Linked DNA regions of Homo sapiens: all the other regions are linked to region 4. Evidence: promoter capture Hi-C in human tissues and cell types (Jung and others, 2019). All regions are on one chromosome and are shown on one strand. Each heading gives the region's core, a stretch centred on a gene start or on the middle of the fragment in contact. The rest is flanking DNA. Distances are from core to core; before and after follow the strand shown.

Region 1 (2,700 bases), core at 118-2,617, 330 kb before region 4:
TGAAGTACGGGGGAGGGGGTCCTCCTGGGACTCCTAGGTGCCCCCAACAATCTCCCAGAAGCCAGTCCCAGTTCTCGGCATCCCCCTGGAGGAAGGGGAGGGGGACTCTCTGGCTTACAGTCTGTGGGGGTGGAGGGAGGAGGGAGGACGCCCAGACCCCACGTGCCGACCTGCAGAGCCCTGTCCGTGCCCGCACAGGTGCCCTGACACACTGACACGGCTATACGTGCGCAGCCGCACACGCGGCTGGTCCACACGCCCATCCATCCATCTCCGGCGGCCCCCAGGGAGGCTACGCGCTGAGCCAGGATGAGTGCTGGGACCAGGGCTCCAAGCTCCCAGCCCTTTCCTGGGGCCGGCCATAGGGCAAGCTGGGGATGGCCAGTGGTGGTCCCCCACTCCCTCATGGCCTCCTTTCCCAGCAGGGAAGCTGGAGACCCGGCTCTGCTGGAGCCTGCCTGAGCAGGGCCCCAAGCCCTTGCGCCCAGGCCGGCCCTGCCTGGAGTCCAGCCTGCCCTGGGCTGGGCGACCTTGGGCCTCTGCTCTCCCATCAGTAAATGGCACCCCACCGGCCATGCCAGGGCAGCCACACCCCCAGCGTGGTCCTGCCCCCACCTTCCCTGCAAAGCGTGTTATTAAACGTGGGGCGGGAGGGGGTCTGCTAGGGACTGTCACCTCCCGGGTCGCCCCTCGCCGCAGGGGCCCCCTCCCTGTCTTCCCGGTGCGTGTGGTGGGTGGGGGGGGCATCCGCCTCGCCCTTTGAAGGCCCCAGCAGAGACCTCCAGCTGTCAGCCCGCAGCCTGGGAAGGGAGGGGGACAGAGGTAGAGAGAGAGGGATGCGAACGCCCGCGGCCCGGGAGGCGGGTGCCGCCAGGTGCCCGCTGCGGGGCTCACGGTGGCGGCCGGCTCTCGGGGCCGCCCCATCTCCAGTGCTGGGGGCAGCGGGTGGAGGGCACGGACCAAGGGTCTGGGCGCTGCTGGCCCCGCCCCGCCCCCGGGGACCCGACAACGTCCCCTCCCCGCCCGGCGCCGGGTGGGGGGCTCCGCGCCGGGGAGGGGCCCCCGGGGCTCCCACCCGCGCCCCGCGCCCCCGGCACTCACTGGCCTTCCCGGGCCGCGGCCTCTGCAGCAGCCTCTGCGCGGTCCCTACGTCCTCCGCCTTCACCGCCTGCACCAGCTCCTGCTCCTTCCCCATGGCGCGGCCGGGGCCGCAGCGACGCGGCTGCGCTCGTGAGCTCGGCGCGGCTCAGAGGCGGCGGCGGCCCCGCGGCACCGGCCGCCTCCCCCGCCGCCTCCCCCGCCGCCTCCTCGCCGCCCGCCGCCCCTTCGCCCTCCTCGGGCTCCGGCTTGGGCTCGGGCTCCCGGCGCGGAGGGGGCGGGGAGCGCGTCACGGGCGGGGGGCGGCCCGGGGGCGGGGGCGCGCGGCGGGCGCGGGGCGGGGGCGCGGCACCTGGCGCCGCCTCCCGGACGCCGGGGTCCGCTCCCGGGCCGCCGACCTCCGTCAGCCCGCGCCGGCCGCGCGCCCGGGCCCGTGGCTCCGCCCTCCCCGCGCCCGCCCCGGGACGCCCCCTCCCCACGTGCGCGCAGCGCGCTCAGGCCAGGCCTCTGCGGACGCGGGCGGCCTGGGGCTGCTAGCCGGGCTGGGGACGCGGCCGCCGGGGGTGCACTGGGAGCCCCGACGCGGCGGCGGCGCGGGGCTGAGCCCAGAGAGGCTTCCAGAGGCTGCGGGACCCGCGGGGGACGGTTCCGAGGCAGCGGGCGGGCGGGGACCGGGCGCCGAGAGACCCGGGCGCCAGTGCCCCTGGAGCCGGCCCGCCAGGCTGTCAGGCGTTCCTGGCCCAGGGTTCCCGTGGGAGGTGTCGAGGGATTGTGAAGAGGAATCTCCCAATAATGAATTCGGTGTCAGGGAACCCGCACCCCCAACCCCCAAGCATCCTCCTGCTCCTCTCCGCAAATAATGCGGGCGCCACAGCTTCCCCCAGCCTCAGTCCGAAGCCTGACCCCAAGGTAGCCCCCACCACCCCCACTGAGGGAGCTCAACTCCCCACTCCCCGCACCGACTGGGGGTCGCCTCCATCTCCATCCACAGGGGCTGGAACCTCCCGCCGGCACCAACCGACCCCCGGCCCACGTCTGCCCACTCTCCAGCCTGCAGCCCAGGCAGGCGAGTCCTGCTTCCTGGGTGCTGGAGGCCCCGACTTGTGACCCTCTGAGCTCCTGGCTGAAGGCTTGGGCCACCCTGCGCCTCAGGCCCTCTCCCGTCAGGCCTGCAGCATTCTAGAGGCAGATCAGTGGGGGTCTGAGTCCCGACTCAGGCTCCGTTTCCCTCATCACCCAAGCGGGCAAGGCCGTTTGGAGAATTTGGGGAGGGTCGCACCCATTCTATGAGGCATGGCCTGGCACCCCACTCTGTGTGGCCCCAGACCATTGAGCAGGTCCAGGGGGACAGAGGAGGTCAGACAGCAGGGACAGGGAAGGTGACAGGCACCGGGGTCCCGGCATCCTGTGGGCAGCTGGCCGTTCCCGTTCCCTCCGTGGGGTCTCCTGTTAGGTTCAGGTAGCAGCCCTTGGTCTTCCAGCACTCCTGGGAGGGGTCCCCAAATGCTAGGGCCTTTCCTCTTGCCCTTTCCAATGACCAGTTGAGTACCCGCTGGGTCAGGCACTGTGCTGGTCACCTCCTAGATGAGGTTGGACTCACTG
Region 2 (2,700 bases), core at 165-2,664, 370 kb before region 4:
CTGGTGGTGGAAGGCTGCTGCGGCGGCCCCACGGTGCCCCACAGCAGGTCTGCACACTTGCAGCAGCCCGTCTGACTCACAGGGGCCTGGGCTCCATCTCTCAAGCCCCTCATTTGTGCTCCACCCACAGGAGGTGCTTCCCAAGGACCGTAGATGCCTCTCTAGAGCATGAGCTCAGGCAAGAGTGCCCGCTACAACCGCTTCTCCGGGGGGCCCAGCAATCTTCCCACCCCAGACGTCACCACAGGGGTAAGGGTGTGCCCCTCTGCAAGCCCAACATCCCCAGGACCCCCAGCATGCCCCAGGGATCTGGTGTTGCCTGCAGAGCTCCCAGCGCAGTCCCGTCCCGAGCTGGGGTCTCAGGGGAGCTCGGTGGGGGGGGGTGTGGTGTGTGTGTGTGTGTGTGTGCGCGCGCGCGCGCGCGCGCGCACGCGTGCGTGTGTGGTTGGGGCGTGTTAGTGCTGTGTGGCGCGGCCTGGTTGCATGGTTAAGCGTGTGAGTGCTGCGTGGCGCGGCCTGGTCGCATGGTTAAGCGTGTGAGTGCTGCGTGACCTGGCCTGGTCGCATGGTAAAGCGTGTTAGTGCTGCGTGGCGCGGCCTGGTTGCATGGTTAAGCGTGTTAGTGCTGCGTGGTGCGGCCTGGTCGCATGGTTAAGCGTGTGAGTGCTGCGTGGCCTGGCCTGGTCGCATGGTTAAGCGTGTTAGTGCTGCGTGGCCTGGCCTGGTCGCATGGTTAAGCGTGTGAGTGCTACGTGGCCTGGCCTGGTCGCATGGTTAAGCGTGTGAGTGCTGCGTGGCCTGGCCTGGTCGCATGGTTAAGCATGTTAGTGCTACGTGGCGCGGCCTGGTCGCATGGTTAAGCGTGTTAGTGCTGCGTGGCGCGGCCTGGTCGCATGGTTAAGCGTGTGAGTGCTGTGTGGCGCGGCCTGGTTGCATGGTTAAGCGTGTGAGTGCTGCGTGGCGCGGCCTGGTCGCATGGTTAAGCGTGTGAGTGCTGCGTGGCCTGGCCTGGTCGCATGGTTAAGCGTGTTAGTGCTGCGTGGCCTGGCCTGGTCGCATGGTTAAGCGTGTGAGTGCTGTGTGGCGCAGCCTGGTCGCATGGTTAAGCGTGTGAGTGCTGCGTGGCCTGGCCTGGTCGCATGGTTAAGCGTGTTAGTGCTGCGTGGCCTGGCCTGGTCGCATGGTTAAGCGTGTGAGTGCTGTGTGGCGCAGCCTGGTCGCATGGTTAAGCGTGTGAGTGCTGCGTGGCCTGGCCTGGTCGCATGGTTAAGCGTGTGAGTGCTGCATGGCCTGGCCTGGTCGCATGCTGAAGCGTGTGAGTGCTGCATGGCCTGGCCTGGTCGCATGGTTAAGCGTGTGAGTGCTGCGTGGCCTGGCCTGGTCGCATGCTGAAGCGTGTGAGTGCTGCGTGGCCTGGCCTGGTCGCATGGTTAAGCGTGTGAGTGCTGCATGGCCTGGCCTGGTCGCATGGTTAAGCGTGTTAGTGCTACGTGGCGCGGCCTGGTCGCATGGTTAAGCGTGTTAGTGCTGCGTGGCGCGGCCTGGTCGCATGGTTAAGTGTGTGAGTGCTGTGTGGCGCGGCCTGGTCGCATGGTTAAGCGTGTGAGTGCTGCGTGGCGCGGCCTGGTCGCATGGTTAAGCGTGTGAGTGCTGCGTGGCCTGGCCTGGTCGCATGGTTAAGCGTGTTAGTGCTGCGTGGCCTGGCCTGGTCGCATGGTTAAGCGTGTGAGTGCTGTGTGGCGCAGCCTGGTCGCATGGTTAAACGTGTGAGTGCTGCGTGGCCTGGCCTGGTCGCATGGTTTAGCGTGTTAGTGCTGCGTGGCCTGGCCTGGTCGCATGGTTAAGCGTGTGAGTGCTGTGTGGCGCAGCCTGGTCGCATGGTTAAGCGTGTGAGTGCTGCGTGGCCTGGCCTGGTCGCATGGTTAAGCGTGTTAGCGCTGCGTGGCGCGGCCTGGTCGCATGATTAAGCGTGTGAGTGCTGCGTGGCGTGGCCTGGTCGCATGGTTAAGTGTGTGAGTGCTGCGTGGCCTGGCCTGGTCGCGTGTTAGGCATGTGAGTGGGCTCCACATGTGCACGTCCTCCTTGTGTCCCGGAATGAGGCCAGGTCTCCTCCGTCCTCCCTCTAGACCAGAATGGAAACGACCTTCGGACCCGCCTTTTCAGCCGTCACCACCATCACAAAAGGTGAGCCCTTAAGCCAAGGCCAGCCCAGGCTGGGAATAACCGGGGCACCCCCATGCCCACCCTGCTAAGGACTGAGGGACACTTCCCGGTGAGCTGGTGTTGGGTGCCAGTGCTGGGCGCGGGCAGCCTCACACCGCAGCCTGTGTCCTCACAGCCTCTCAGCCCTGGGCCTCCCCACTGGACAGGAGTCGGGTGTCCTGCTCCTTGTGCCTCGGTGACTGTGCTGTGCCCTCTCTCCCTGCCCTCTTCATCCCCTCTAGGGAGGCTTGCCCTGACATCTCCAGCACCACCACACAGCCCTGTCCCTTGTCACAGTGATCCCCAGCTTGTCCCCAGTCTCAGGCTCCTGGCCAGCCTCCGAAAGGTCCCGTGTGCCCGGAGGTCTTCTCTTGAGTTTGGCCCTAGGGCTTCAGTAACAGTGCTGCAGTTGTGACATGTTAATAGGAAGGGAGGGAGAGTGGAAGAGATCCATAAGTCTGGTTTGTTTTTTTGAGACGGGTGTCACTCTGTCACCCA
Region 3 (2,700 bases), core at 33-2,532, 430 kb after region 4:
ATCTCCTTCAAATGCCCCCACCTCGGCTCCACGCCCCTCCTCCAGAGCACACTCGCGTGAGGCGCCAGCTGGAAGATCCTCGCGGGTCCCAGCACCGCAGTGGGTGCCTGGGCCTGACAGAACCTCCCTGAACCCCATCTTTCTTCTCCATCGACACCGGGGCAGAGACGGTGTGGGGGCTGCAGGGCGGGGACTGGTCGGCCTGGGCTCGACAGCTTGGCGAGGGCCTGGTGCGGGCTGGGCAGGCTGGACTGAGGGGCAAAGAGGTCTGGGCGGGGCGGGGCCGCTCTGGGCGCCCGGCCCCCACCAGTTCCTTCCCCCGGCCCCCGCCTCCGCCCTCCCACGCACCTGCGCTGGCCTCCCCCCAAGCCCTGGGGGCAGCGGGCGGGTGGCGCTGGGAGATCAGAGGACTCGGAGGAGTCGGGCCCAGGGGGAGGGGGCGGGGAATTTCCCCCCACGCCTGCCTGGGCCTGCTCCCCTCCCCCTCCCCCGCCAGGTGGGGGGCACGGCTGGGGGAATTCCACTGCAGTGTGAAGGCTCGGGAGAGTCTGGGCTGGGGGTCCCAGGGAAGGGCGGGGCAGGGGGAGGAGGAGGGGACAGACTGGGACCTGGGGCGCAGCTGCCTTTCTCCCCAGACACCAGCTGCCCCTGCCTGTCCCGGACTGAGCGTCCACGACTCCCGCCTGTCTCGTGGGCGCGGGGGCAGGGAGTGGAGCTTCCTCCGTCAGGCCAGCGGCATCTGGACCAGGGGCGGGAGGGGCGTGCGGATCCGAAGAAAGTGTGCGCGTGAGCGCCTGGCAATGAATGGGAGAGAGTGCGAGCGCGTGCGTGCACTGGGAGGAGGGCGCTTGTAACTCGGACATTCCGGGTGTCCTGGGGCGCGTGCGACCACGTGAGGGGGTTCTGTATCTCCCATTTTAAGGGCCTTCCGTCCGCTTGCCCCGCCTGTCCCCCTCCACACCTTCCCACTTGAACCGGCACCGACCTGAGGGAGAGGGGGCCGGGAAGCGCTGGACGCCCGGGGTCGGGGGAACGGGCGTGGGAGGCGTCTGGACCTGCTGCCTCCGCTCCAGTGCTGGGCGGGGCTTCCCGGCCTCCCATGGGGGGAGGGAGAGACCCAGGGGGAGGGACCCACGGAGGGATGCGAGGCGGGCAGGAGTCAGCCCGTTGGAGACCTGGGCGAGGGAGACGCCGAGAGCTAGGCTCAGTGGGAGGGGGCGGGCGTAGAGGCTGAGGCACCGCCCAGAGCTCGCTGAGACAGAGACTGAGAACGCCCCCGGCCAGATTCCCCCCGGAGAGACCCGGGTAGGGACAGGGACAGAGAGACGCCTCTAGGGGCAGAGGCCCTGGGAGGCAAAGACCCCCAGGAGAGATTTACCCACCCCAGACGGAAAGCGCGGCTCAGAGTCGGACGAGGGGAGACTGTCAGAGGACAACGCCCCCTAGGTCTCCTGGGAGACCCCGAAGCGACCCCGGGGGCAGCCCGGGCCGTGTCCGGGCGAGGGTGACCTATCCTTGGTTGAGAGCGATGGGGACACAAGCCCTGCAGGGCTTCCTCTTTCTCCTCTTCCTCCCGCTGCTGCAGCCGCGTGGGGCCTCGGCTGGGAGCCTGCACAGTCCAGGTAAGTCCCCGCACGGCTGTCGGGCCGTGTTCACCACCCCTTCCTCGGCCTCCGCCCCCAGGGCCAGGCCCCCAAGGCTAGGGAGGGGGACAGAGCAGGTGGCCGGAGCAGCTGAGCAGCCCGAGGGCTCCTGCAGGGGCGGGTGCGGGGTCGCTGGCTGGGGACCCAGGCGGGAGGTGGCGTAGGGGCGCGAGGATGCCCGGCGTGGGTCCGGACCTCCCCAGGCCCTGCCTTTGCCGTGCAGGCCTGTCCGAATGCTTCCAGGTGAATGGGGCTGACTACCGCGGCCACCAGAACCGCACTGGCCCGCGCGGGGCGGGCCGCCCGTGCCTCTTCTGGGACCAGACGCAGCAACACAGCTACAGCAGCGCCAGCGACCCCCACGGCCGCTGGGGGCTGGGCGCGCACAACTTCTGCCGGTGAGGGGCGGGGCCTGCGCTGGGGGCGAGGCTGGGCTCACCATTGCAGGGATGGCCCGAAGCGGGGCCTCCGTGCGGGCGGGGTGGAGGTCTGCCGTGGACTGGCAGCCCAGCCTCCTGGAGAACCTGGGGGCGGGGCCAGAATGAGGGGCGGGGCGGGGCGGGGCGGGGCGCGCGGAACCCTGGCGCAAAAGGGATCCTCCTCAGGTGAACAATTTCTGCAGAGCTCCAGTTCAGGGCCAGGAGAGAAACGGACCTGGGCACTCAAAGGACCCGTATGGGCGGGGCCTGGTCAGAGCGGGGGCCGAATGGGCGGGGCCTTGTCAGAGTGGGGCTCTTGTCATACAACTTATTTTGGGGTTCAGAGCCACAGCTACGGTCTGAGGCAGGATGGACCCAGCGGGAGGAGAGCCGCAAAGCTCAGGAGCTCACTTCTGCTTTTAAGTGGGGTTGGAGGCCAGGCGCGGTGGCTCAGCCTGTAATCCCAGCACTTTGGGAGGCCAAGGCAGGCGGATCATCTGAGGTCAGGAGTTCGAGACCAGCCTGGCTACCATGGTGAAACCCCATTTCTACTAAAAATACAAAAAATTAGCGGGGCATGGTGGCGGGCGCCTGTAATCCCAGCTACTCAGGAGGCTGAGGCAGGAGAATCGCTTGAA
Region 4 (2,700 bases), core at 133-2,632:
TGGACAGTCAGGGGTTTGCTTTCTGCTCCTGAGTTGGGGTGTGCAGCGTGGAGCCCACAGCCTGGTTCTGGGCCAGGGCACAGTGCCAGGGGCTCCGCTCTGACCTCCAGGAGGGAGACTGGGCCCGGGACCCCTGTTTTCTGCTCCCTGGACTGCCTAGCCCTGAGTGCCACGGATGACCAGCGTTCTGTTTTCTCTTCTCAATAACCCTATCTCTTCACACATCCCCAGGCCCAGTGCTTGCCGGCTGTGGTGACCCTGCCTGGTGCTGGAGGGCAGTATGGGAGGCACCAGTGTGCCCTGCTCACCCCATTAGTGTCATCCTGCCATCTTCTGTGTCCCCTTGGCCCTGGCACACACCCATGTGGCAAACACGGGCCGTGAGGCTCCCTGAACAGCTTCGAGGCGGGTGGGCTTCTGGAGCCCTCTTGGCTCTGAGGACAGCCACAGTGGGGTCAGACGTCAGGGATTGGTGCAGCCCCACGTCAGGGGTGATTGTCTTGACTTTCTCTCCATTTGAGTTCTGGGGTGGGTGGCTCCCTTCCCCCTTGCTTACAGGTGCTGTCCTGGGCACAGGAGGTACGCGCCTGGCTCTGCCACTGTTCTCTTCCCTCTGCTGCAAAGCCCAGTTAAGGAAATGTCTCCAGGTCCAAAGAGATAGGATGGTCTGGGCCCCACCTGTTGGAAGGGAACAGCCAGGGAAGAACCACCTGCCTGGGCAGGGCCTCGCCTGAGGGAGGGCCTGGGGCAGGGCACAAGGGGTTGATCTCAGCCCACAAGCCCCAGGGGCAGCCCAGGAAAGCAGGCGACGGATGTGGATCCTGACCTCCTGAGAGGTGTGAGGTGCAGGGATACCCACCTCTGCCTTGACGGCCGCGCACCCCTTAGGAAGTGGCTGTCCAGCGCCTGCCTGTGCTGGGCCTGGGAGAGGAGCTGTCTTGCCAGGGCTCCCAGGCAGGGAGAGGCAGGTGAGGTTCTCAGCCGATGTGTTAGAGGTTGAGCATCGCCTGTGCCCAGCTTGCTGGCTGTCAGTGCTTGATGTGCCCATCCTCAGCTAAAACCCAGAGCTGGCATGTTGGTCATCCCCACCTCAGACGGGACGCCCAGTCCAGAGCTGGTGAGCCCTGGGCCAGCCTTTGGGCCTGGCCTGCCCCATTCACCGGCCAGCGCCCCACCTCCCTGGCTGGAGGGTCGGGGAGGGGCTGGCAGAGATGGTTGGTCCACAGGGCTAGCCCTGGGTGGTGGGAGAGGGGCCCAGGGTCAGGGTGAGAGAGAGCTGGGCCAGGGAGCTGCTGCAGGATGATTTTGAGGTGTGGGGGAAGCACTCTTGGTTGGTTTTGGTTTGCTTTTTAAAAATTGTGGTAAAATACATAACAAAAGTAACTATCGTAACCTGAGCAGTTCTGTGACATGAAGTGAATTCACTGCTTTGTGTGACCTTGGCCACCATCATTCCCCACCACTCACTCCCGCTGGGCTCCCAGCCCTGCCCCACCATTCCGCTCCCTCTACAGCTATGGGTTTTACAAAGAAGGATGCAGGGCGCCCTGACTGCGGGGTGAGGGGCAGGCCTGCCCGCGGTGTGGGCATTCGCTGAAGGGGGACGCCCAGGTGTCTGCCTGAGTTACGGGTTGGGGGGTCGGGCATGTGGGGAGGGATGGAGTTGGAGGTGCATGCTCTCAGAGCTGGTAGGGGTGGCCCGTTTCGTCCCGTGTGTGAACTGGAGATGAGACCCGGCGCCTGCGATCCCGCAGACCGCGCCCGGCCGGGTGTCACTTGTGGGCGCACGCTGCCGGGATGCTGGGCCGAGCCCGCGGTTTAAGACCCAGATCTCAGCCAGGTCCCTTTCGCCGTCCGAGCCTCTGCACCTCGTGGGCTCCGAGCACATCCAGGCCAGAGACTGCGTTTGGGGCGTGGGCACGGGAGACCGTCATCAGCCAGGACGCTCTCGACCGATCCGGCCGCGCCCCGCCCAGCCTCGTAGCGCAGGCGCTGAGTCCAGGCTGACGCGCAACTCTGGGAGCGTTGCGGCACGCGGGGCCTTGCCTACTGTGGGAGGGGCTTCTGGGGGCGGGCTTCTGTCGGGCCAATTAGGATCGCCGCAGGGAAGGCACGCGCCGCGGCTGAGCAACAGGGGCGCGCGTCACCTTCTCTAGTTAACCCGCGCGGCCCCGGGCACAGAGCCCGAGGCTGCGCGGTCCCCGGCGGGCCCGCGGACCCCCCCCATCTCTGCGCCCCCCACATCTCTGCGGACCCCGCCTCGCCCCAGCCCTCCCATCCACAACCCTCACAACCTTGCATACCCCGCTACGCTCCCCACCGCGCCCTCACATTCCTGCAGACCCCGTCTCCCCACAACGCTCCCCGCCAACGCTGCGGAGCTCCGCGTCGCCCCAGCGCTCCCTGCCAAGCCCCCCACACCCCTGTAGACCCCGCCTCGCCCCAACCCTCCGAGCTGCTCCCCTTATACCCTTGCGGACCTAGTTTGTTTCGTCCCAGTCCTCCCCGTCGCGTCTCCCACATCCCTGCGGACCTCCCCGCGCCTCGCCTCTCCCTTCTGTTACGTATCACGCACAGGTGGATCCCACTACGACCCAGCTTGGCTCCTGTCCCGCACCTCCGCACCTGGCCTCTAGCCCCGCCCTCACTGTCTTGGGAAATGAAGCGGAGGGGTGGGCCGGACACTCTAGAAGCACCCTG
Region 5 (2,778 bases), core at 268-2,767, 340 kb after region 4:
TGAGCGCATGGTTAAGTTTTCAGACGTTTTGCAAGCTGGATGTTAAATACATTTTTTGACGTCATTGTTAAAAAATAAATTTTATGAGCCTACAATTAAATACATTATATTAAAAACAAAGGTAGACGCCTGCGCGGTGGCTCACGCCTGCAATCCCAGCACTTTGGGAGGCCGAGGCGGGTGGATCACCTGAGGTCAGGAGTTCAAGACCAACCTGGGCAACATGGTGAAACCCCATCTCCACTAAAAGTACAAAAATTAGCTGGGCGTGGTGGCGCGCACCTGTAATCCCAGCTACTTGGGAGGCTGAGGCAGGAGAATCGCTTGAACCTGGAGGTGGAGGTTGCAGTGATCTGAGATCATGCCACTGCACTCCAGCCTGGGAGACAGAACGACTTACTGTCCAAAAAATAATAAATAAACAAATGAAGAAAGAAAACACTCAAAATGTATCACTGGTTAATTGTTTTGCTGTTTTACTACTATCTGTGTTCTTGGAGTGATTTACATCCATCTTATCTGTATGGTGGGAATACTATATAATAGTGTGCTATTGCACGTTTCTTTCCAACTCTATGTTCAATGACATCATATTGGAGACTTGAAATCGGCTATGGTGGGAATATTTACACCATAGAAATTGGTAAACTGTAGAAATCAGGGCTTTTTTTTTTTCTTCCCAGAAAGTCAGTTGTTAAACATTCAGCAGCATACCACTGGAGTCAGACAATAGCCAACGTGGAGAGACAGAACAAGGTCCGTGTCTTTTTGGGGTCAGCATAGGAACATAATCATTTTCTGCTTTATTAAGATTCAGCGCAGAAACTGACACATGGTGCTCCATGAGTGTTTGAGGAAGAGCAGGAGAGAGGAAATTATGTGCTTCGCTGGGCTCTCAATTTACTTATCAGTTTGCCTAACCTTGACCCTCACCGGGACTCTTACCTCAACCTTTTCTCTCCAATTATCCTAACAGCCCTTGGTGCACCACGTGCAAGGCCTGAATGCTAACAATTGAAAGCGTTTCAAAAGCGAAAGTCAGCCAGGGAAGGATTTTGAGTTGGGGGTGATAAAATCAACTTTGCTTTAGGATGAGAATCAGCCATCTGTTTGTGGAACAGGTTGAGGAGAGGAACAACCAGCAGCAGGGAGACCAAGACTTTGTTCCACACTGACCGTGTGTTAGGCCTGTGTAGAGAGAGATGGGGCTGCAGGGGTGAGCTTAAGCCGCGATCCTTGGCTCCAGGAGCTCAGTCTTCTGAGGCAGGAGATAGTAAACAGACAATCACTGTGACTGTGATGTACACACTGGGGGAGAAGGCAGGTTGAAGTCCTGGAGAGCAACTCACTCTGCCTGAAGGAGGCAAGGAAGCAGTGAGCCAACCCAGAACTCGTAGGGCTTACAGTCAGAGGGACGCTGTCAAAAAAGGGAAGACAGGAGATGACAGCATGTGAAAACTGCCTAGGCAAAGCCTGGAAAGGAAAAACCGCAGGAGACTGATGGGAGATGAAGCTGGAGAGGGTTAGAGTTTCTCACTGCAGACTGAGCATTTTTGAGACGGGGTCTCGCTCTGTCACCCAGGCTGGAGTGCAGTGGTGCGATCTCAGCCTCCTGGGTTCAAGCACTTCTCTTACCTCAGCCTCCTGAGTAGTTGGGACTACAGGCACATGCTACCACGCCCAGCTAATTTTTTGTATTTTTAGTAGAGACAGGGTTTCACTGTGTTAGCCAGGATGGTCTCGATCTCCTGACCTCGTGATCCGCCCTCCTCGGCCTCCCAAAGTGCTGGGATTACAGGTGTCAGCCACTGCGCCTGGCAGGGGAGGTTCTTTACTGTTCTCCAGGCTTGAGCTCTCTTGTCTCCAGCGAACCAGCTCTTCAGCTGTGTCTCCTGCCCTGTCTCTGCAATCTAGCCAAGAATGAATCCTGATTCCGCAGCGTGGCCGAAGGTTGGTGGCTGTATATCTGGCCCACAATGTCCTTTATCCCCAAAGCTCCATTCAAGCATGTCTGTCTGTCTATCCTTTTATCTCTTTTCTCTCTCAGCATTTTGTAAAATTTGCTCAACTTTAGCATATAGCTGGATGCCTTGACTCACAGTGAATCCCTCAGGTTTTTTTTGAGGCAGGGTATCATTATATTATCCATGCTGAAGTGCAGTGGTTATTCACAGACGTGACCATAGTGCACCACACCCTTGAACTCCAGGGATCAAGCCATCCTCTTGCCTCAGCCTCCCGAGTAGCTGGGAACACAGGCTCATACCACTGAGTCTGGCTACCAATAATTTTTATTTTAACAATCTGTAGGTCAAACCTGAAAAACCGCCTCTAAATAACTTATAATTTTGATATATTTACGTTTCGATCCTTATGATGTTTGCATTTTGTTTCTGTATTCCAGGGTTGCAAGCATATTCTACTTTTCCCAATATGTTTATAGTTTGAGGTTTTAAAAACATTTTTATGAACAATATAAAGATATACTATTTTCCAAATATGTTAAGTAATTTTTTCAGCAATGTTTATTGAATCAATCATCTTTTCATTCCCCAGTGATTTAAAATGACATCAACGTAAGATATATCTGTATATATCTGTTAGGGTAAAATTCATTTGTGTGATCGAGGAAGCAGAACCCTCAAGGAGCGATGTAACATAATTACAGCAGGGCACAGTGGCTCACGCCTGTAATCACAGCACTTTGGGAGGCTGAGGTGGGTGGATCCCTTGAGATCAGGAGTTCAAGATCAGCCTGGCCAACATAGTGAAACCCCG
Region 6 (2,700 bases), core at 29-2,528, 290 kb before region 4:
GCGGGGAGGCTCCCTGGCACAGCCGCTCTTGCTGAGCCGTGGCCCTGCAGGTGGACAGCCACATCATGAAGGTGGTGCAGCAGATCGTGCACCAGGCTAGCGCCGGCCACCAGATCATCGTGCAGAACGTCACCATGGACGAGGAGACGGCGCTGGGCCCAGAGGCGGCTGCCGCCGACACCATCACCATCGCCACCCCCGAGAGCCTGACAGAGCAGGTGGCCATGACGCTGGCCTCGGCCATCAGCGAGGGCACTGTGCTTGCCGCCCGGGCAGGGACAAGTGGCACTGAACAGGCCACTGTGACCATGGTGTCATCAGAGGACATCGAGATCCTGGAGCATGCAGGCGAGCTGGTCATCGCCTCGCCGGAGGGCCAGCTGGAGGTGCAGACGGTCATCGTCTAGCATGAGGTCTGCGGGGTCCTGGCCGGGCAGGGACAGGGCAGAGGACTCTGAGCGCCCCACCCATGCCTGCCTGGCCTGGTAGAGAAGATGGCACAGGATGGAGGCGCCCCAAGACGGACAGTGTACATAAGAGTTTCTTGTTGCTTTACAATAAAACATGAGAACCTGCAGCTTGTGATGTTGTGGCAGTGGCAGCCTCCGCGGCTGGTGCCACCACCTTTGCCCAGGCCCCCGCAGCAGCACCTGCCTCCCAGGCCACTCCTAGACTCACGTGCCTGGCCGCCCCACCCAGGGGCTTCTGCCAGCCCTGGCGGCGCCTTGGTGCTGTGTGGGTGTCATTGGCATGTTGACCAACAGCCTCCTGCCCTGCCCAGCTGGAGCTGTGCCCCCAGCTGCGCTGCCTGAGGCCTGTGGGTGGGTGGGAGGACCAGGGACGGGGACAGGGAGATCTGGGAGCCTCGGCCTCCACCGCAGGGTGAGCAGGTGGAGCAGCAGCAGGAGATGCTGGGTAGGGAGTGTGGCTGGTCCTACCTGCGCTGCCTTGCTTTCCCTGAAGGGATTCTGCTCAGGGAGGCAGAGTCTAGGCGACCTAATTTCTAGGGGCGAGGACAAGAACACAGCCGCACCGGGATGTGGCTGACCGTCTACCTCCCTCCTAGGGGGCTGGCAGGGGCTTCTGGGACGGTTTTGGGACAGGTCTGGGGCACCAGAACCGGCTCAGGCAGGTCTCCCACCCCTTACCCTGGGGGTCTCCATGGGAATGAAAGCCAGGAGTTCATCAGGCACCCAGCTGAGTCGAGGGGGCGGGACCCAGTGCAGCCCGGCCCCTCCCTGGCCCAGGACCTCAAATACCGGCCCCTGCCTTGGTGCCAGAGCTACTGCCAGAGGGAGTCAGTGCAGTCCTGTGTCGGACACGCCCGCAGCCTGGACCCGGGATCCCCATCCCCCTAGGATCTCTGAGCCTCGGGCCTCTGCACCCACATCCAAGGTGAGTCTCTCGGCTGCCCTGAGCTGGGGCTGGATGGGCCGGACCCTCCATTCCGGCTGCAGCTTCCCGCGCAGTGAGAAGGCAGCGGTCCCTGAGAGCCCAGCAGTGCCCTGGGAGCCTGCAGAACGCAGGGGCGGATTCCGCGTCGCACTGGCCGTCAAGGGGCGGCCGCGGAGGGAAGGGGTGGGTCGGTGGGTCTGACAGCGGGTCTGCGTAGGCGGCAGCGTCTGTCCCTCCCAGCCTCTCGCTCCGCGCCATGGGCGGGCCCCGGGCTCTGCTGGCCGCACTCTGGGCGCTGGAAGCCGCCGGGACCGCCGCGCTTCGCATCGGAGCCTTCAACATTCAGAGCTTCGGTGACAGCAAAGTGTCGGACCCCGCTTGCGGCAGCATCATCGCGAAGGTGGGGCCCGGGCCGGGGCGGGGCGGCGTTTAGGGGTGCTGACCGCGCTGACCCCCGCACCCGCCGCTCCTCCCCAGATCCTGGCTGGCTATGACCTCGCGCTGGTGCAGGAGGTGCGAGACCCAGACCTCAGCGCCGTGTCCGCGCTCATGGAGCAGATCAACAGGTGTGGTGGGCAGGGCCCCTCGTCGCGACCCCCCGCCGGGATCTCGCCCCGGCGCGGCGCCCCGACCCTGAGCGGGCCCCTGTCTCCGCAGCGTGTCCGAGCACGAGTACAGCTTTGTGAGCAGCCAGCCCCTGGGCCGGGACCAGTACAAGGAGATGTACCTGTTCGTGTACAGGTGAGGGGCGGGCCGCAGGGAGGGGCGCGCGGGGCCGCAGGTCGGGGGCTCAGCGGGTCCTCCCCATCTCCTAGGAAAGACGCGGTGTCGGTCGTGGACACCTACCTGTACCCAGACCCCGAGGACGTCTTCAGCCGCGAGCCCTTCGTGGTCAAGTTCTCGGCCCCCGGCACCGGTGAGCGGGCCCCGCCCCTCCCCTCCCGCCGAGCTCTGACGCCCCCACCCCTTCCCGCAGCAGCACAGAACCTGGTGCTGATCCCGCTGCACGCGGCGCCGCATCAAGCCGTGGCGGAGATCGACGCGCTCTACGACGTGTACCTGGACGTGATCGACAAGTGGGGCACCGACGTAAGCCCACCCCTCGGTCCCGGGGTCCCTGCAGGCGCGCCCCGGGGGTCTGGTTCATGAGGGCGGGACCTCGACGGCTCCTGCGGCGGCTCAGACACGGCTCCGCGGCGCCCGCAGGACATGCTGTTCCTGGGCGACTTCAACGCCGACTGCAGCTATGTGCGGGCGCAGGACTGGGCCGCCATCCGTCTGAGGAGCAGTGAGGTCTTCAAGTGG
Region 7 (2,700 bases), core at 1-2,500, 490 kb before region 4:
AGCTACCCTGTGCGCCTGTGCCCTGCTGGGGGCCTGGGCTCTCCGAGGGGCCTGAGGATGGAGGCCCCACGTCCCCGAGGAGGGCGGCCTCTGGACAGGCCCCTCATTCCGCGCGGCAGCTCCCAGGCCTGGGGAACGTAGGTGTGTGAGAGCGGCACCCGGGAAGGACGCCTGGCCTCTGGCTCAGCCCTGCTTGGCGGGCTCCCCCGTGGACACCCTGTTGACTTTGCACTTCCCTCCCGGGCCCCGCACCCCCGAACCGACCACCGATCGACCGGCACCGCTGTTGCCTCGTAAGCCATAGCGCATGCGCGCTCTCAGGATAAACAGGCCCTGCCTGGGACCCACACGCCTCTGTCTTTTCTGAGCCTCCTCCCCGTGGGGTGAGAGGGGTGGAGGGATGAGGCTGTTTCAGGGAGCCCCCTCCCCGAGTCTCAGCAGCTGGAAACGGTCTCGTTCCTGAGCCCGTGCCCTGCATCCATCTGCTCCCAGCCCTGCTCCATCTCCCCCGCTGACCCCCATGGGACCCCCTGCTGTGTGGCACATCCTGGGCCCATGCCCATCTCTCTTATTTGGCAGACTCAGCCTCCCACCTTCACCTTCCCTGTGAAGCCATCCGGCCCCACACAACACCCACACGGGCCACCCTTTGCCCAATTCACCCTGCGACCTCTAGCAGTCACAGGTCAAGCTTTGTACCCTGTGGCGCCCTGCCTGGGTCCCCAGTGTCCCTTTCAAGGCCGGGTAGCTCTGTAAACAGGGGTGGGACCCTGGCAGAGGCTGGGCTTTGAGGGCATGAAAGTTCAGGAGCTGGCGGTGTCCGGGCTGGGAAGCTGGGGGGCCGGCGGTGGATAGCATGAGGGGCCAGGGTCCCCAGCCAGCTGCCCGGGGGCTGCTTGCTTCCCCAGCGGACTTCCAACAGCTGGCTGCAGCTGGCTCTCCCCACTTCCTCCCTCCCAGGTTCATGCACACCCCCTCCCCCTCCCTGAGTACATAGCAAAGATTGTCACGTCCCCAGCCGGCCTCCCAGGCAGCCCTGCTCCAGACACGCGAGCACGGGTGTGTACGAACACATCCTTGTATGCGATTCCCAGGCTCTCTGCCCCCTCAGGGACAGACATCAGCCAGATCCCATCTGCAAACACACCAAAGCTTTATTCAACAGGCGTGGCTTCCTGAAGCGTAAAGCCACTTCACAGACGGTGGCCACAGCGGCACCTCGGCCAGAGCCATGCGGCCATCAGAGACCCTGGGCGGCCGGGCAGAGGGCTTGGTTGAGGCAGGCGTGGCAGCGAGGGTGCACAGGCAGACAGGTCTGCTGGCCGAAGCCCACCAAGAGTCCATTGATCTCGTGCCACAGCTCCCTGTGGGGGTGGGGGCTGGGTCAGTGCTGACAGAGGGCGGGCGGGGTGAGCTCTTCTCCCTAGGAAGCCCCCCACATACTCATACCTAGGCAGCCACTCCTCCAGGGCGGCGCGGGTCTCCTCTGGGGACTTGGTTGCCTTCTTGGTCCACCTCAGCCTGTTGGCGATTCTGTGCACATGCGTGTCCACTGCTGCTGGGAGGCCAAGCGGGGTGAACAGGGGCACACTCCACCAGCCTAGCCCGTGCCCCTCCCCGCCCAGAGGCGAGTCTGCCACCACCCCCGTGGCCCTCCAGTTAGACATTGGAACCGCAAAGCCCTGGCTGCAAGCCTACATGTGACCATCTTGGCTGCCCCTGAGGTGCTGGGGCAGGGGCTGAGCCCTCTGTTGGGGTGCAGGCCTCTCTCCCATCACCTGAGCCAGCCTGGGGGGCTCTGTTCTGGGCTGCCCACTCCCAACACTGGTGCTAGTTGGATGTGTGGGTGGTGGGGTCTCTGCTTTGGGCAGGGCCTGGGGGTGATGACTCGGCTCTGCTTGGAGCTCTATTCCCCACAATAACAGCGACAGCTCGCTTGGACAAACGCTTGCTGGGGGCCAGACCCTGCCAGAGAGATTGGCCAGCTCAGTGAGTCCTCATGAGGTCCTACGGATGCTGAAACCGAGGCCCGGCAGGATCCCGACTCCGAAGCACCTCTCAGCCCTCAGCCTCCCCAGGAACGTGGCCCTGTCCCCGGAAGGGTCCATCCAGGCTTCCCTCTGTCTGTCTCCTGTGGCCTGAGGCTCCTCTCGGCATAAGCACTGGCTCTGGGCACCAGGCTGGGTGGCAACAGCTCTGCCTGGCAGGCCGGCATGAGGTCACTGCCTGCAGACCTAGCACCTGCCACTGCAGCGGTCAGGGACACAGCGGGAGCATGCCCTGGCCGGCCGCAGCTGCTGTCCACCTGGGTTCTGGCTCCTGCTCCCCTCAGCTGGCCACCCCAGGCGTCTGCTCACTGGGGCTCCCTTCTCCCACCCGGTGGCCCCGGCCAGCTGCAGCCCCAGCCCTGCCTCCTCCTCCCGTGTTTCCCAAAGAGAAAGCCGAGGCCTGCACCAGCTCCTTCGCTGCTGCCTAGAAAAAGGTGTCCGAGGGTGTGGGGAGACCACAAGGCCTGAGGGGTCACACCCCTGGGGCTCTGAGCCTCAGTTTCCTCCTCTGTAACACGGAAGTGGCCATGCTTCAAGGCTGAGTCAGGCCACGTCACGTTGTGTGAGCCTCCTGCCCACCTGGACAGTGAATGACGAGGACTGCCTCACCCACTTTGTGGCCAGAGCTTAGAGAAGCCAAGGGCCTGGCCCA

Evidence for each region. Contacts are between HindIII fragments. The study calls those that stand out against the background at their distance.
Region 1: a contact is called between the fragment with the promoter of CASKIN1 here and the fragment with the promoter of CEMP1 in region 4, in 3 of the 25 tissues and cell types used here (dorsolateral prefrontal cortex, lymphoblastoid cells and spleen).
Region 2: a fragment that was not itself captured here is called in contact with the fragment with the promoter of CEMP1 in region 4 in 3 of the 25 tissues and cell types used here (dorsolateral prefrontal cortex, mesenchymal stem cells and spleen).
Region 3: a contact is called between the fragment with the promoter of KREMEN2 here and the fragment with the promoter of CEMP1 in region 4, in 4 of the 25 tissues and cell types used here (adrenal gland, dorsolateral prefrontal cortex, lymphoblastoid cells and 1 more).
Region 5: a contact is called between a fragment that was not itself captured here and the fragment with the promoter of CEMP1 in region 4, in 1 of the 25 tissues and cell types used here (dorsolateral prefrontal cortex).
Region 6: a contact is called between the fragment with the promoter of DNASE1L2 here and the fragment with the promoter of CEMP1 in region 4, in 4 of the 25 tissues and cell types used here (IMR-90 fibroblasts, dorsolateral prefrontal cortex, lymphoblastoid cells and 1 more).
Region 7: a fragment that was not itself captured here is called in contact with the fragment with the promoter of CEMP1 in region 4 in 2 of the 25 tissues and cell types used here (dorsolateral prefrontal cortex and lymphoblastoid cells).

Annotation. Positions count from the first base shown.
Region 1 is chr16:2,195,238-2,197,937 of GRCh38, forward strand. CASKIN1 (CASK interacting protein 1) reads right to left here and starts at 1,368. Exons shown (of 20, transcript NM_020764.4): 1 at 1,102-1,368. The coding sequence starts at 1,195. The HindIII fragment of the contact is 36,898 bases long and covers 1-2,700 here.
Region 2 is chr16:2,163,753-2,166,452 of GRCh38, forward strand. TRAF7 (TNF receptor associated factor 7) reads left to right here. Exons shown (of 21, transcript NM_032271.3): 2 at 131-249; 3 at 2,127-2,184. The coding sequence starts at 169. Among named protein-coding and RNA genes, the nearest start is that of TRAF7, 9.3 kb to the left of the region's middle. RefSeq lists enhancers at 1-219, 629-1,402, 1,403-2,175. The HindIII fragment of the contact is 6,093 bases long and covers 1-2,700 here.
Region 3 is chr16:2,962,993-2,965,692 of GRCh38, forward strand. It overlaps KREMEN2 (kringle containing transmembrane protein 2), which reads left to right and starts at 1,283. Exons shown (of 9, transcript NM_172229.3): 1 at 1,283-1,622; 2 at 1,867-2,041. The coding sequence starts at 1,529. RefSeq lists enhancers at 1-515, 2-131, 2,100-2,700, 2,662-2,700 and silencers at 212-291, 322-451, 1,002-1,081, 1,612-1,861, 1,932-2,301. The HindIII fragment of the contact is 31,540 bases long and covers 1-2,700 here.
Region 4 is chr16:2,530,026-2,532,725 of GRCh38, forward strand. CEMP1 (cementum protein 1) reads right to left here and starts at 1,383. Exons shown (of 1, transcript NM_001048212.3): 1 at 10-1,383. The coding sequence starts at 1,048. The coding sequence ends at 305. It overlaps AMDHD2 (amidohydrolase domain containing 2), which reads left to right. Exons shown (of 11, transcript NM_001330449.2): 11 at 1-1,392. MIR3178 (microRNA 3178) reads right to left here and starts at 1,980; the gene lies at 1,897-1,980. RefSeq lists enhancers at 1,786-1,835, 2,614-2,700, 2,616-2,665. The HindIII fragment of the contact is 25,225 bases long and covers 1-2,700 here.
Region 5 is chr16:2,868,699-2,871,476 of GRCh38, forward strand. No RefSeq gene overlaps it. Among named protein-coding and RNA genes, the nearest start is that of PRSS22, 12 kb to the left of the region's middle. The HindIII fragment of the contact is 8,538 bases long and covers 1-2,778 here.
Region 6 is chr16:2,235,166-2,237,865 of GRCh38, forward strand. DNASE1L2 (deoxyribonuclease 1 like 2) reads left to right here and starts at 1,279. Exons shown (of 7, transcript NM_001374.3): 1 at 1,279-1,395; 2 at 1,613-1,795; 3 at 1,873-1,961; 4 at 2,053-2,136; 5 at 2,211-2,484; 6 at 2,602-2,700. The coding sequence starts at 1,652. E4F1 (E4F transcription factor 1) reads left to right here. Exons shown (of 14, transcript NM_004424.5): 14 at 51-577. The coding sequence ends at 407. The HindIII fragment of the contact is 25,906 bases long and covers 1-2,700 here.
Region 7 is chr16:2,038,684-2,041,383 of GRCh38, forward strand. It overlaps NHERF2 (NHERF family PDZ scaffold protein 2), which reads left to right. Exons shown (of 7, transcript NM_001130012.3): 7 at 1-343. NTHL1 (nth like DNA glycosylase 1) reads right to left here. Exons shown (of 6, transcript NM_002528.7): 5 at 1,450-1,555; 6 at 1,137-1,364. The coding sequence ends at 1,241. Among named protein-coding and RNA genes, the nearest start is that of NTHL1, 7.8 kb to the right of the region's middle. The HindIII fragment of the contact is 4,986 bases long and covers 1-2,700 here.